Linked DNA regions of Homo sapiens: region 2 is linked to region 1. Evidence: promoter capture Hi-C in 16 types of primary human blood cells and fetal thymus (Javierre and others, 2016). All regions are on one chromosome and are shown on one strand. Each heading gives the region's core, a stretch centred on a gene start or on the middle of the fragment in contact. The rest is flanking DNA. Distances are from core to core; before and after follow the strand shown. Region 1 holds the start of UBE2E1 (ubiquitin conjugating enzyme E2 E1). Region 2 holds the start of RAB5A (RAB5A, member RAS oncogene family).

Region 1 (6,641 bases), core at 1,683-4,182:
TAATTTTTGTATTTTTAGTAGAGACGGGGTTTCACCATCTTGGCCAGGATGGTCTCAATCTCCTGACCTCGTGTTCCACCTGCTTTGGCCTCTCAAAGTGCTGGGATTACAGGCATGAGCCACCACGCCCGGCCAACATACCGGCCAACATAACTTTCTTTGCTTTGATTTCTTTATCTGTAACATGAAGAGTGTGAACTAGAAGATATCTTAGGCCCCTTCTAGGCATAAAATACTATGATTCCTTGAGTATATGTTTCTCCTGGAAGGTTTCTTATATTTTCATCAATTCTAAGTTATAAAAACCCCATGTCCTCTTTTCTGCCCTGGTGACGAAAAACAAAAACATAAAAGCAACAAATAACCCCAAACCCATGAACTAAGAAAATTCCACTAGAGTGGAATTATTAATAATTTACTTTGCGTAACAGCTAATAAATCACCTTACTTACAGATACATATTTGACCTTGCCAGTCAGTAGAGCACAGGTATTTCTGCCCTTTATGGATGAGGGAACTGAGGCTCAGGGAGGTCAATTTAGCTTTTTAGGCCTTGTAGTTAATAAGAAGGAGAGATAGAAAGTTGTGTATGAATTTTTTTTCCCCTAAGACAGCTGCATACAGGTCTTAAAAATAATTCGACATAAAGATTAGTCTTTTGAGAGGACTGGATTCTTTTCTAAACATTTTGAAGTTTTTATTCCCTGTCATCAGGTCATTCCAAAACGATAAAGCACTAACTTAAGCTAGCTGGAATTAGAGATTAGGGGGAACAGTACACAAAAGAGGGCAAGAAACCTTCCAGACAGGTGGTTGGGAAATCACTTTTCCTTATAGGAGGAGCTGTTAGATTTCATGATTTCTTTCACAAGGAATCAGTCCAACCCAAGCATCAGTAACACAACACAAAATATCATGTTCTGTTACAAAAGAATTCTTATTATAGCTGGTAGGCAATTTATGCAAACCAATATTAAAGAAAAAATTCACCTACTGTCCTGATCACTTCAGCAAATCAAACCTTTTATTTTCCTGTGATCTCTGCTAGTTCTTGTCTTTATAACACATGATTTTTTTACTGGTTGTATTCATAATGTAGACATATATTTTTAAGTATCAGAAATCCAAATTTTCATAGGAGGAAATTTCAATTTTAATAACTATTTTTAGATTATTTTCCTCATCCTGAGTTTATTTCATCTTCTTATTGTTTTCTTCTGAATTTACATCTTTTCATCAGAACAAAAAGAATACAATCAGTTTTTCAGAAGTTTAAAAAATTTTTTCAAATATATAGCAAAGAATGTCATCATTTTTATATACTCTACCAGGACTCCTGAAACCAAACACTTAAGAAAGGTTATGTCTGGAAATTTTTTCAAAATCTATATGCATTTCAGTGGTGGAGAAATAGTTCTGTCTGGAAGCAGGAGGCTGAAATTATGACCCTGAAGATTTCTTCCAGCTTTTGAACTTCTTATTCTATGACAACTCCTGGTAGATACAGGTTTCCTGGTAGGGATTGAGCAAGAAGCATGCACAATTACTTTATGAGTCTTGATAAAGCTGGAATTTCAGGTTGATGGTTAGAAGGAGTTCGGCTGGGTCGTGAGAATGCTTGTTTTCCTGGTTACTGGATATGCCATGGGCTGTATATCTTGTGTTGTCCTGTGGTAACTGAAGCCACTGTTGCTGTGGAAAATGATGGCAGTTTGAATGAGATAATTTAGAGTGACCTATGGAAATCTGAGGCTGTCTCCTTAATGTACAAGACCTTGTATGTGTGGCACTGTTGTATTTGAATGGCACACATCTCTTTAGTTCCCTTCAACTGAAATGACAAAAGGTGAGAAACTGAATCGTAATTTGATGGCTTAATATTAAAAAAAAATTGGCAAAAATGCTAAATAAGGAACAATTCAGAAGAATTGCTGATCATTTCAAAAATATTATTTGCATAGCATTTATAGGTAGCTAAAGAAAGAGAAAAATGGCTTAATATTTTAAAAATAATTTGGTCAATTTAGCGATCTGGGGATTCTGCGATCCCCAGAACTTTGCATCCAATTTCCAAAAACCAAACCTTACATCTAATGTAAAATGACACAAAAAATTCTAAATCCAGTCTAATTCAGTAGTATATAGCTTATTCCCAGTGATGTCTCACATTCGCAAGCCCGTTACACGTTGGTTTTACCTGTCACCAAAACCTTTGTATCACTCTTATAAAAAACCACATCACTTTCTATAAAAAGTGAGTGGAAGAATCTAATATTGTAAAACTGCACGTGCCTCGCGTGACCTGAGCAGAAAATTCCTAGTTTGGGATTTTCTCACAGGCATACCTAAACTGACCTCTGCTCCTAGCAGGTAAATTGCTAGAAGGAGAAGCAAGTGTCAGTCCAAAGAAAACCCTTGTTGTGTGATTTTTTTTTTCTCTTTAATCGCTTTTTAGGTGGAGTACCCGCTGCATTCTCTAAAGTCTTTGCCACCACCAGATTACCAACGTTTTCACCAATTTGCCACCTCCCTACTCCTCTCCTTTCCAAAAGCCCTCATTGGAAAGAACTTTCTCTCGTGACCCCCCTATTCCATCTAGTTCCAATCACTCCCAGCGCCCCCCATCTCCATCGGCTTCCCCTCTCCCGCCCAGAATCCAGGTTCCCAAACCACTTAAGAGAAAATTCACAACCCTCGCCCCCTTCCCGGGCGTCCGGAGGAGGCGCTGGGGTGGGGGTGTCTGTGGGGGACAGGGTTTCCTGGGGTCTCCTGGGTCTTCCTCGCGCACCCCCAGGAGGTGTTGCAGGGGGAGGGGAGCGCGGGTGGGTGGGACCGGGCCGGGTGGGGGAGGGGTGAGGGCGAGGAGGAGGAGGAGGAGGAGGCGGCGGCGGAGGAGTGGTGTGTGTGCGAGCGTGTGTGGCTGGGGGAAGCCATTGCCTGTTTAATAGTTGCTGTTGCTGCACTTCCGCTTCTCTCCCAGCGAGAGAGAGACACGAGTGGCCAGGCCCAGCCGCAGCCGCAGCAGCAGCCGCCGCGGCGGCACGGAGGAGCCAGACACAAAGAGAGGTACGGGGATCCCCCCAGCGGCCCGCCGCCCCCCGGCCGCGCCGCCGGGCCTCGGGGACACCCCTCGCCGCCTCCCCCGACTCGCGCCGCCGGGGCCGCCGGGCCGCAGGGCACGGGGCCGGCGCGGGGGGGGAGCGGAGAGGGGCTGGGGAGCCCCAGGGGTCCGGGGCCCGCCCGCGGGGGATGGGCAGGGACCCCGGGCCGCGTGGGGTGCGGGGGCCGCCCGCATTGAGGACGGGGGTCATTGTGGCTCGAACTGTCAGCGCTGCCCCAAGAGCCCCCCACTGGCCACCGAGGGGCCCGGGAGCGGGGGTGGGAGGGAGTTGGGGGAGCCCCGTTTTCCCCAGGGGCGGGGGTTCGCGGGGATTAACCCCTCCGGGGCGGAAGGGCTCATTGTTATGTCTTCGCTGCGGAGGCCGACCCCCCCATTCCCCGCCGCAGCCCCTATCCCCCTACAGGAGTGGCGATCGGGCGTGTGCTCCGGACCCCCGCCCGGCCGCATAGCTGTGAGCAGGGCGGCCAGAGGCAGGCAGGCCGGGAGGGGCGTCGGGGCGCGGCGCGGGGGGGCCTCGGGCCTCGTCGCCCCTGCCCCCCGCCGGCCTCTCCCTTCCCCCACCCGGGCACCCGCTCCCCGCCTCCGTCCCCCTGTTTCGGCTTCCTCTCTTACTCCTTCCCGCCCCTCCTCTCTTCCCGACCTCGCCAAACTCCGCTCGTGGCCCCACAGTCTCACCCGGGCCACCGGCCCCTCACGACCCCCGGAAAGCGGACAAAAACAGCCCCGAGGCCGGCCGGCCGCCGGGACCTTCCCTCCCTGCCCCGCCGTGGCGCCCCGCGCCCCCCGCCCTGCCCTCCTTCGCCTCCCGGGCTACTCCCTCCCTGCCCAGCGGAGAGCCCCGGGGGGCGAGGGAGGGGCCTCTCTCCTAGCTCCAGACCGTTTTCCCACAGCGTTCCCCACTTGGGGCCAAAAATAAACAAGCCGCGTCCGATTTGCAAAAGCCTTAATGGGCCTGCAGACTTTGAAAAGCGAGTGGAGGGCGGTGGGCGGCCGCGTGCGCCCCTGGTCAATGCCCTCCTGACAGCACCCGAGTTCCTTATTTACACTGGCTGCATGGTTTGTGTGTTTCTGTTTTGTTTCTCTCCCCCTGCAGGGGCTGTTTGCGGGGTGGGGTGGGGGGTTCGCTATGTCGGATGACGATTCGAGGGCCAGCACCAGCTCCTCCTCATCTTCGTCTTCCAACCAGCAAACCGAGAAAGAAACAAACACCCCCAAGAAGAAGGAGAGTAAAGTCAGCATGAGCAAAAACTCCAAACTCCTCTCCACCAGCGCCAAGAGGTACTGTGCTCTTTTTTTTTTCCACAGGCTTCCTATTTCCGAACTGCCTCTTGCTGCATTTGGTCTGCCTCCCAATGAGGATAGCTTAAACGCTCCTCATGGTTTATGTGTTCTTAAAAATGAAAGAAGGGCCTTGGAAGCCCTAATTATTTTCTCTATTGCTGCTTCTGTTTTTAAATCATTGCTCACATGCAGCTGTTGCGGCTTGCCTCTCGCATTTCTTGCTGAAGTTTGTAAGATTCCTCGTTACTTTTATTAGTGACCCCCAAATCTGATTTCAGATTTCTTGTCCTACTAATGGTTAATCTGTGACCTTCCCCAAGGCCATGATCCCATTTCTTAATTACTAATACCAGCCCAGAGAACTGCATCAAAATGAATTCTGTGACCATTTTACCTTCTCCTCACCTGTTGCATGGATGATCTTTTCTAAATAGAGCTTTCTTCACAAATTGCATAAGGAATAAGAAACTCATATTAGCAGGTACAAAATTTAGTAGGTGAAGACAGATGTTTTCTGGTGGAATTTAAAGAGATTTTTCTGAGAGTTGAGGCAAATGAATGAATCAGTAAGTGACTATAAAATGGTTATTCTAGGTTATTTTTGTGGTTCTCTTTAAAAACTTCAGTTTACCAATTTCAGGGAGACTTGTCTTTTTTTCATGCTATTTGCTGTCCTCATGCTGTGAAAATGTTACTTTGCCTTATTTTTTCAATTTAAGTGGTCTCCCTTTTACTTTATTCTTTTCCTCTTAAGGCCCTGAAGGTAGCTACTTTTTATCCCTGCCATCCTAAGCGGTCACCCTTTTTCTTTATTCTTTTCCTCTTAAGCCTCTGGAGGTAGCTACTTTTTACCCCTGCCATCCTTCAGTAATATCCTCTGATCGCCATGACCCTCAAAATCATCTTTAGTGGATTCCTAGGAGCTCTGAGACACCCTTTCATAAATCCTTCTGCTCTCAGAGTTAGGCAGTTGTTAAAAAGGTGGCAAACCAGGAAGATAGTAAGAACTCCAAATGATGGGATAGGGATACCCTTCTTAAAAATTTTTAAAATAAAGTAGAACATGAGACTTTAGATCTCTCCACTGAGTAGTGAGCCTGGAAGTCAGGGTTTGAGAGTTTGTTCTGTCATTCTCCCTGACTTGTAATTTGAAAACTTGGCAGTGTTTTGGTGACCTAACCATGGGCTGATGAAGGAGTGACTTTTAAAAAATAGTGTGGAGGTCTTAAGTGGCAAGGTGCCTCTGCAAGATTGTTCTCATTTTTATAGGTTTGGTTTGATTGTACAGCTTCTCAGGAGGCCTGACTGACCCTCACTGATTAGCCCTGTGCGGTTTTCCTGGAACCTGACATCTACTCTGCCCACTTGGGACGGGCCCTTCCTTAATACTGCGCCCCACCTCAATCCTCTAGGCTCTCTGATCCTCATTCACGTTTTGGCCTCACGTGCTCAAGCCAGGATACTTGCTTTTGGTAATTTGCATTTTTATATTTTGCTAGATATCCCTGGTGTACATGAATATATTTGGGGGTAAAGACACAGGTATCAAATAGAAAATACTCTGCTTTTGTTGTGAGTGAATTACAGAGAGGGGGATTTTTTTCACTAGACATACTTTGTTTATTTTAAACAAGTTAAGAATTTATTTGGAAGTTCTGGAAAAGAGATGATAGGTGTAGAAAAATGAAAGGTGGGAAGCTACAAATAGTAATTTTACCTATAAATTAACATCAGGGCTTTTGTTTTGTTTTTGCAATGAATTTAGCTCCTTGATAATCTTGCTGAAAGAGTAGCTATTAGTGTTAAAGCAGACCTAAAGTTAATAGAAAAAGGTAAAAAAATGGAGAGGGACAGTGTATCCAGGAAAGAGAATGGGGAAAATTGATGTTAGTGGGACCCTATAGAGGCTGTTCTGTGAAGTATATTGATTTGGAAGGTAGGTGTTGCCCATAGAATTGGAAGGGGCACATTCACCAGGAGTAGGAGTGAAAAAGAAGCCTGAATTGGCAGACTAACAGGCTGCTAACTGCATGTTGGAAAGTGGTTTCTAAACCGTGGGTAGAGGAAAGCCCCCATTGCAAGTGGTCTGAACAAGAATGACTCTCTGGAAATAGGTATGAGTTACTCCTGCAAATCTCTTGCCAGTTTTTTGGAAATGCAAATGCTGTCTGTCAAGATGAAGTTGATAAAGCTTTTTGGTATTAACGCTTCTTAGGTATTAAAGAAACAACTACCTTTT
Region 2 (6,136 bases), core at 578-3,077, 3.9 Mb before region 1:
AGGCGGATCACCTGAGGTCAAGAGTTCAAGACCAGCCTGGCCAACATGGAAAAACCCCGTCTCTACTAAAAATACGAAAATTAGCTGGGCATGGTGGTGCATGCCTGTAATCCCAGCTACTCGGGAGGCTGAGGCACAAGAATCGCTTGAACCCGGGAGGCAGAGGTTGCAGTGAGCCAAGATTGCGCCACTGCACTCCAGCATGAGCAACAAGAGTGAGACTCCATCAAAAAAAAAAAAAAAAGGCCAGGAACAGTGGCTCACACCTGTAATCCCAGCACTTTGGGAGGCTGAGGGGGGGCAGATCACCTGAAGTCAGGTGTTTGAGACCAGCCTGGCCAACATGGTGAAACCACGTCTCTACTAAAAATACAAAAAAAATTACCCAGGCGTGGTGGTGGGCACCTGTAATCCTAACTACTCAGGAGGCTGAGGCAGGAGAATCACTTGAACCTGGGAGGCAGAGATTGCAGTGAGCCGAGATCGCACCACTCCAGCCTGGGTGACAGAGCGAGAATCCATCTCAAGAAAATAAATAAATAAAAATTTAAAAGTACCACTTCTAAGGTCAAAGATCAGCACATTTCATTGAGCTCCAACCTTTTGCCTAAGGCATAAGCAATAGAAGCAGCAGTTAGCTCATTGATAATTCTCAGTACATTGAGATAAGCAATAGTTCCAGCATCTTTGGTAGCTTTGATGCTGAGAATCATTAAACCAAGCTGATATTGTGACCACAGCATTGGTAACACTCTTTCCAAGGTAGGCTTCTGCCATTTCCTTCATCTTTGTCAGAATAACAGAGCAGCTGTCCCCAACCTTTTTGGCACCAGGGACCAGTTTCATGGAAGACAATTTTTCCACAGACCAAGTTGCAGGGGGTAGGATCGGGGGAAGATAGTTTTAGGACAATTCAAGCACATTACATTTATTGTGCACTTTATATTATTATTACATTGTAATATATAATGAAATAATTATATAACTCACCATAATGTACAATCAGTAGGAGCCCTGAACTTGTTTTCCTGCCACTAGACGGTCCCATCTGGAGGTGATGGAAGAGAGTGACAGATCATCAGGCATTAGATTGTCATAAGAAGTGCTAGATCCCTTGTGTGTGCAATTCACAATAGAGTTCACACTCCTATGAGAATCTAATGCTGCCACTGATCTGACAGGAGGGGGAGCTCAGGTGGTAATGTGAATGATGGGGAGCAGCTGTAAATACAGATGAAGCTTCACTGACTTGCTGCCACTCACCTCCTGCTGGGCAGCCAGTTCCTAACAGGCCACAGTCCAGTACCAGTCCATGGCCCTAGAGGACACCTTTCTGGACAGAAGTTTTTTTTATCTCTCCCTTGTATTCTACTTGGACCTTGGGCCTGCCAACATTATTCACTACCATGAAGGGCCAATGCTTCATATCAGACTGGACAACAGCATAATCAAGTCTGTGTCCAATCAGCAATCAGATTTGGCATCAAAAACTGTGTTCATGGGGTTCATTGCAACTTGATTCTTTGTGGCATCACTGAGCAATTGTTCAGTATCAGTAAAGGTGACATAGCTTGGAGTGATTCAATTTCCCTGATCATTGGCAATTACCTCTATTTTTACATGCTGGAAAACACCCACACAAGAGTAGATGGTGCCAAGATGAATACCAACTGCAGGTCCTTTAAACAGGGTTGTTTGCATGTAGGCCGGATTGGATTCTGAAGAAAGACATAGGAACCCCAAAAGTGGCCACAGCATTCAATAAATCCCCATAAATTCTTCAAATGACTTTGCAGTATGTAAATCCAGGTAAGGGCTCATTCAATTCATTCATTCATTCTACAAACAGGTATTGAGTCCCTCCCTATTTTGTGTCAGTGTTGGGAATACAGTTAGCCCTCTGTATTCCATCGAAAGTATTTGAGTTAAAAAATGAAAAAAACACAAAATAATACAAATTAAAAAAATACAACTATTTACATATCATTTACATTGTATTACTTATTGTAAGTAATCTGAAGATGATTTAAAGCATACAGAATAGCCTACATGCAAATACTACACCATTTTACATGAGACTAGAGCATCTGCAAATTTTGGTACCCATATGGTGGGGGAATAAGGGAGTGTCCAAGAACCAATCACAAGCAGATGGACTGACTGTATAACCCAACCCCTATCTCATGGAGCTTATATTCTAGTAGGGATAGATAACCATTAAGTGGAACGATGCGTAATATCATATCAAATGGTGCTAAGTGTTATGAAGACAATGCATAATATCATATCAAACAGTGCTGTTATGAAGACAACAGACTACTTCGATATGTAACAAAGCATTTAGAATTAGTGGGCTTAGAAGTCCCTTAGGTAGATGACATTTGAGCTGAAGCCTGAATGATGCCCTCCAAAGACACAAGCTTTTGAAACATGACTAGCTTAAGTTTTCACAGCCTTTTATTCACTGACTTGCTACTACGCCAATGTTAGAGTTACCGTTGGTTTGTCTCCAGGAAAAATTTTGAATTGTCTCCAGACAGTTCCAGTTAAAAGTAAATGTAACCATTCATTATCATCTATGCAAAGATTCATTCTTTAGCTACACAAGGGAGGACAGATTTCCTGGAAGAGAAGGAAAAGGTTATGGGATCCTGTGAATGGTAGAGAGACACCTGCCACTGGGAATTTGTTATTGAGTATTTAGAGATTTGAGGGCAGTATAAGCATCAAAGACAGTGTTTAAGTCTTCATGATTATTTATCCATTTTGTACCTTCCTTAACAAGTTCTATCAACTGGTAGGACTCCACATTTGACACTAAAATATATACAATTATCAGTCCTCCTCAGTTATCTGGGGCTATGAAAAAGAAAACATAGGCATATTGCAAGTGGCAATAAAACAACAGAGCTTTACTGTGTCATTTCAATTTCTCTAAAACTACTACCGGATCTTTAGAAATGCCAGCCACCAGGGCAGCACTCTTCCAGGCAAACATTATGACTAAACTGTAAAATATTGTGAAAAGTATTCATGAAGGAGGTGAAGACAAAATCACTAAACAGGAACGAGTGAAGAAGCAACATACTGGAACGATGAAATAGGGAGTTTTTTGCAATTTATAAATTTCAGCATCAAATGTTTTTCATTGTGAGGTCTTCTTAATGTTCGTGATTCTAAATGTAATTAAGTTCACCAATACTTTGGGGGTCCCTATTATAGCAGTCAAGGGTCTTCTGTGAAGAACTGAAATGATGAATAACTGATGGTCACAGCCCTTAAAAACCTTATAATTCAATGAAAGGCTAAGGAGAAAAGTCCAGGTGCTCATTAGCTATTAAAATAAGGCAGATTTTAAGACAGCCATTATACAGAGTAAGGCAAAGTATTGTGAAATTACAGAAAAAATAATAATTGAATCCAGTAGAAGTATCTGCAGATGCGGTCCAAAGGAACTGGTGTCCTGGCTAAGACGGAGCCAGCAGTTATGGGCAATGATAGTGTTCCATGTGGAGAAAATAAAGTGATCAGATACCAAGATGGCAACACACAGGCAATATTCAGGGAACACAGACCAGATACGTGTGATCAGGGAACAAATAAAGAGTATGGGGAGAGGAATTCTATAGAAATAGAATGAAAGAAACTTGGGTTGGGACTAGAGTTAAAGAACTTTAGACTGTCAAGTAATGACATAGCATTGAACATTTTTTAGTAGAGTGGCTAAAATGTAAAGAATGGACAGAAAGAACAGCAGTATGCATTAATTTCAGTTTATATAAACACTACCATGGACCAGGTGTTGGGATTAGACTTCAAATTTGGGGATTAGATAATTTGTTGATAGAATGGACAATGGTTTGTGAGGAGAAGAAAGAGGTGAAGCTGATTCTGCAGTTCCAAGTCTGGGTGACTGGGAGGATGTTAATGCCAGTCTCTAAGCAGAAGCAGGTTTGGAGTGGAATAGGTTTCGTTTTGGGCATACTGTTGACATGACAAAACTGATGTCACATATCCTATTTCCTGACTCCTCCTGGGATTGTCCCAGAGCTATTACCATGATTAATAGTTCATATTGAACAACTCCTTGAGAATAAAATGCCACAGGTATCATTTACGTATGACACATTACGTTCTTCTGGCAACTAGGTAGTTGATCTGAAAGACGGGCTGTTCAAAGTTCAAATCATCTTAATTGCACAATGCCGCCGACTGTACGCCCATAAGATACCTTAACCCGGTACACTTCAAAGACAATATTCTCGCCCTTACAACAGAGCTATACATTGTAAACTGCAAACTGAAAAGTAGCCTTTATTCTGAAGGAAAATCAATTTAATATTCTTCCACTAAATTATCAAAACAATTTTTTTGGCGGAGGCTGGGGAGGGGGTGGTGGCTGAAGCCTCGCCAGAGACTGAATGTGGTGTGGGATTCAACTAAAGCAGCACATCTTCAGTAGGTCCCCCGTGGAGGGTAACGAACATCTTGGGTTGTCTTTCACCAGAATTGTGTTCAACAACTCACGTTCTGGAGCCAACCCGCCGCAGATCAGAATCCAGCTTCTGCACCACACAGCCGTGATCTCGGACAAGTTACTCAATCTCTTGTGTCTCAAATTCTTTACCTATAAAACATCTACAACTAGAACTGAAGACTTGGCTGCCAGGCACTGGGCTAGACATAGATTTACAGCGGTGAGGACCACCAAGGGGAGCTAAAATTCGAATGTAGGGAACAGACGATTAACAAGTTAGTTTCAGAATGAAAGACTCGAGTGTAAGAATTCAATGGGATAATTCCTGTAAAGCGTTTAGTACAGTAAAGAGCGAAGGGAAATTCTGAATAAAAGGCAGACACTATTTTAGGATTTGGCCTTCCCCGCCCCCTACCAAAACCACGTAAACTCTTAACAGAAGCGACTTCTTATTGTCAGGCGCCTAAAGGCGGCTTTTGGGATAGGGAGGGTCCTTTCTTCCTCCTTGGGGTAAATGCGATTTAGCAGCCTTTACCGACCTACCCAACCCCAGGGCCATTTTGTGGGAGGAGGTTCTCTCGTGCTAGACAAGTTCCCTCTAATAAAGCCCCTTAGCCGAGATGCCAGGATTGGGGTTAGGGAACCTCGCCGCTCCCACAAGGGCTGGGCACAAAAAACAAACAAAAAAACACAAGTTATTTTGATCTTCCCCCAAAGAATAGTAAAGGAATTTCCCCCGACCCCGGCCGCCAGGAGCCCAGAGACCCCCCAGCCTAAATAACAATGGCGCTGGAGAGGGCGTGGCCGCGCGTACCTGGGGTGGGGGAAGGGGAGAAAGGCGGCCAGTTCGGATCTGAGCCACTCGCAGGGTCACGTGACATCCTGCCTCGCCCCGCCCCGCGAACAAACCTAGGCGGGGAGGGATTCGGGAAGGGGCGAGGAAGCGGAAGGAGCAGGCGGACTGGCGATGATGGGAAGTGACGAAGTGGCGCAGTTCGCTGCGTGCAGCGACGTGGCGGCGGGGCCGGCACCGGGCAGCGGAAGTGGCTCCGGCGGTGGGACTTGAGTGTTTGTGTTTTGGTTCGTGAAGGAGCCGGCGGCTGGCCTTAGGGGAGGAGGCAGAGGGAGGAGGAGGAGGAAGAATTAGTCGGAACTCCAGCGCCGGCGGCGGCGGCGGCGGCGGAGGAGGAGAAAGGAAAGAGGAAGGGGGAGCGGCGAGAGGCGGAGACGGAGCCCGACAGGGGCGGCACCACGGCACGAGCCCCGCACAGTCCAGTGTGAGGGGAGCGGCGCTAAGAGCAGGCGACGCCGCCGCCGCCACCACCACCGCCATAGATACACTCTCATCCTACGGGCCACGCCTGGGCCTTGCTGCCAGGAAGCTTCGGCCCCGCAGCTCGGCTTGCTGCGGTCTCAGGTAACCGAACCGCCCCTCCTCCTGCGCAGCGGGGGCCTGGACCCCAGGTTATCCGCGGTCCCCAGCCTGTCCGCGGCCCTGCCGGTACTGAGACCCCCCACCCCTTCTCCCTCACGCGCAGCAGTGCCCTGGACCAGAGAACTATCGAACCCGGCGTCTTGTTCTGCCAGCCCTGGTGACTCATCCTCCAGGGGCTCTGGAGACCGGGATTTGGGGACTGACTGAGGGAGCGACGGGTGTCA

The links. Contacts are between HindIII fragments. The CHiCAGO score rates a contact against its expected background, and 5 or more counts as called.
Region 2: a contact is called between a fragment that was not itself captured here and the fragment with the promoter of UBE2E1 in region 1, in 1 of 17 cell types (non-activated CD4 T cells). The highest score is 6.3, in non-activated CD4 T cells.

What each region holds. Positions count from the first base shown.
Region 1 is chr3:23,803,023-23,809,663 of GRCh38, forward strand. UBE2E1 (ubiquitin conjugating enzyme E2 E1) reads left to right here and starts at 2,933. Exons shown (of 6, transcript NM_003341.5): 1 at 2,933-3,066; 2 at 4,215-4,399. The coding sequence starts at 4,248. UBE2E1-AS1 (UBE2E1 antisense RNA 1) reads right to left here and starts at 3,883. Exons shown (of 2, transcript NR_046652.1): 1 at 3,797-3,883; 2 at 1,002-1,692. RefSeq lists silencers at 2,869-2,978, 3,059-3,188, 3,379-3,678, 3,879-4,058 and an enhancer at 4,359-4,448. The HindIII fragment of the contact is 12,732 bases long and covers 1-6,591 here.
Region 2 is chr3:19,941,628-19,947,763 of GRCh38, forward strand. RAB5A (RAB5A, member RAS oncogene family) reads left to right here and starts at 5,470. Exons shown (of 6, transcript NM_004162.5): 1 at 5,470-5,894. It also overlaps a transcript of EFHB not described here and the pseudogene HSPA8P18. RefSeq lists enhancers at 4,351-4,952, 5,363-5,532, 5,458-5,627, 5,489-5,538, 6,059-6,108. The HindIII fragment of the contact is 1,181 bases long and covers 1,238-2,418 here.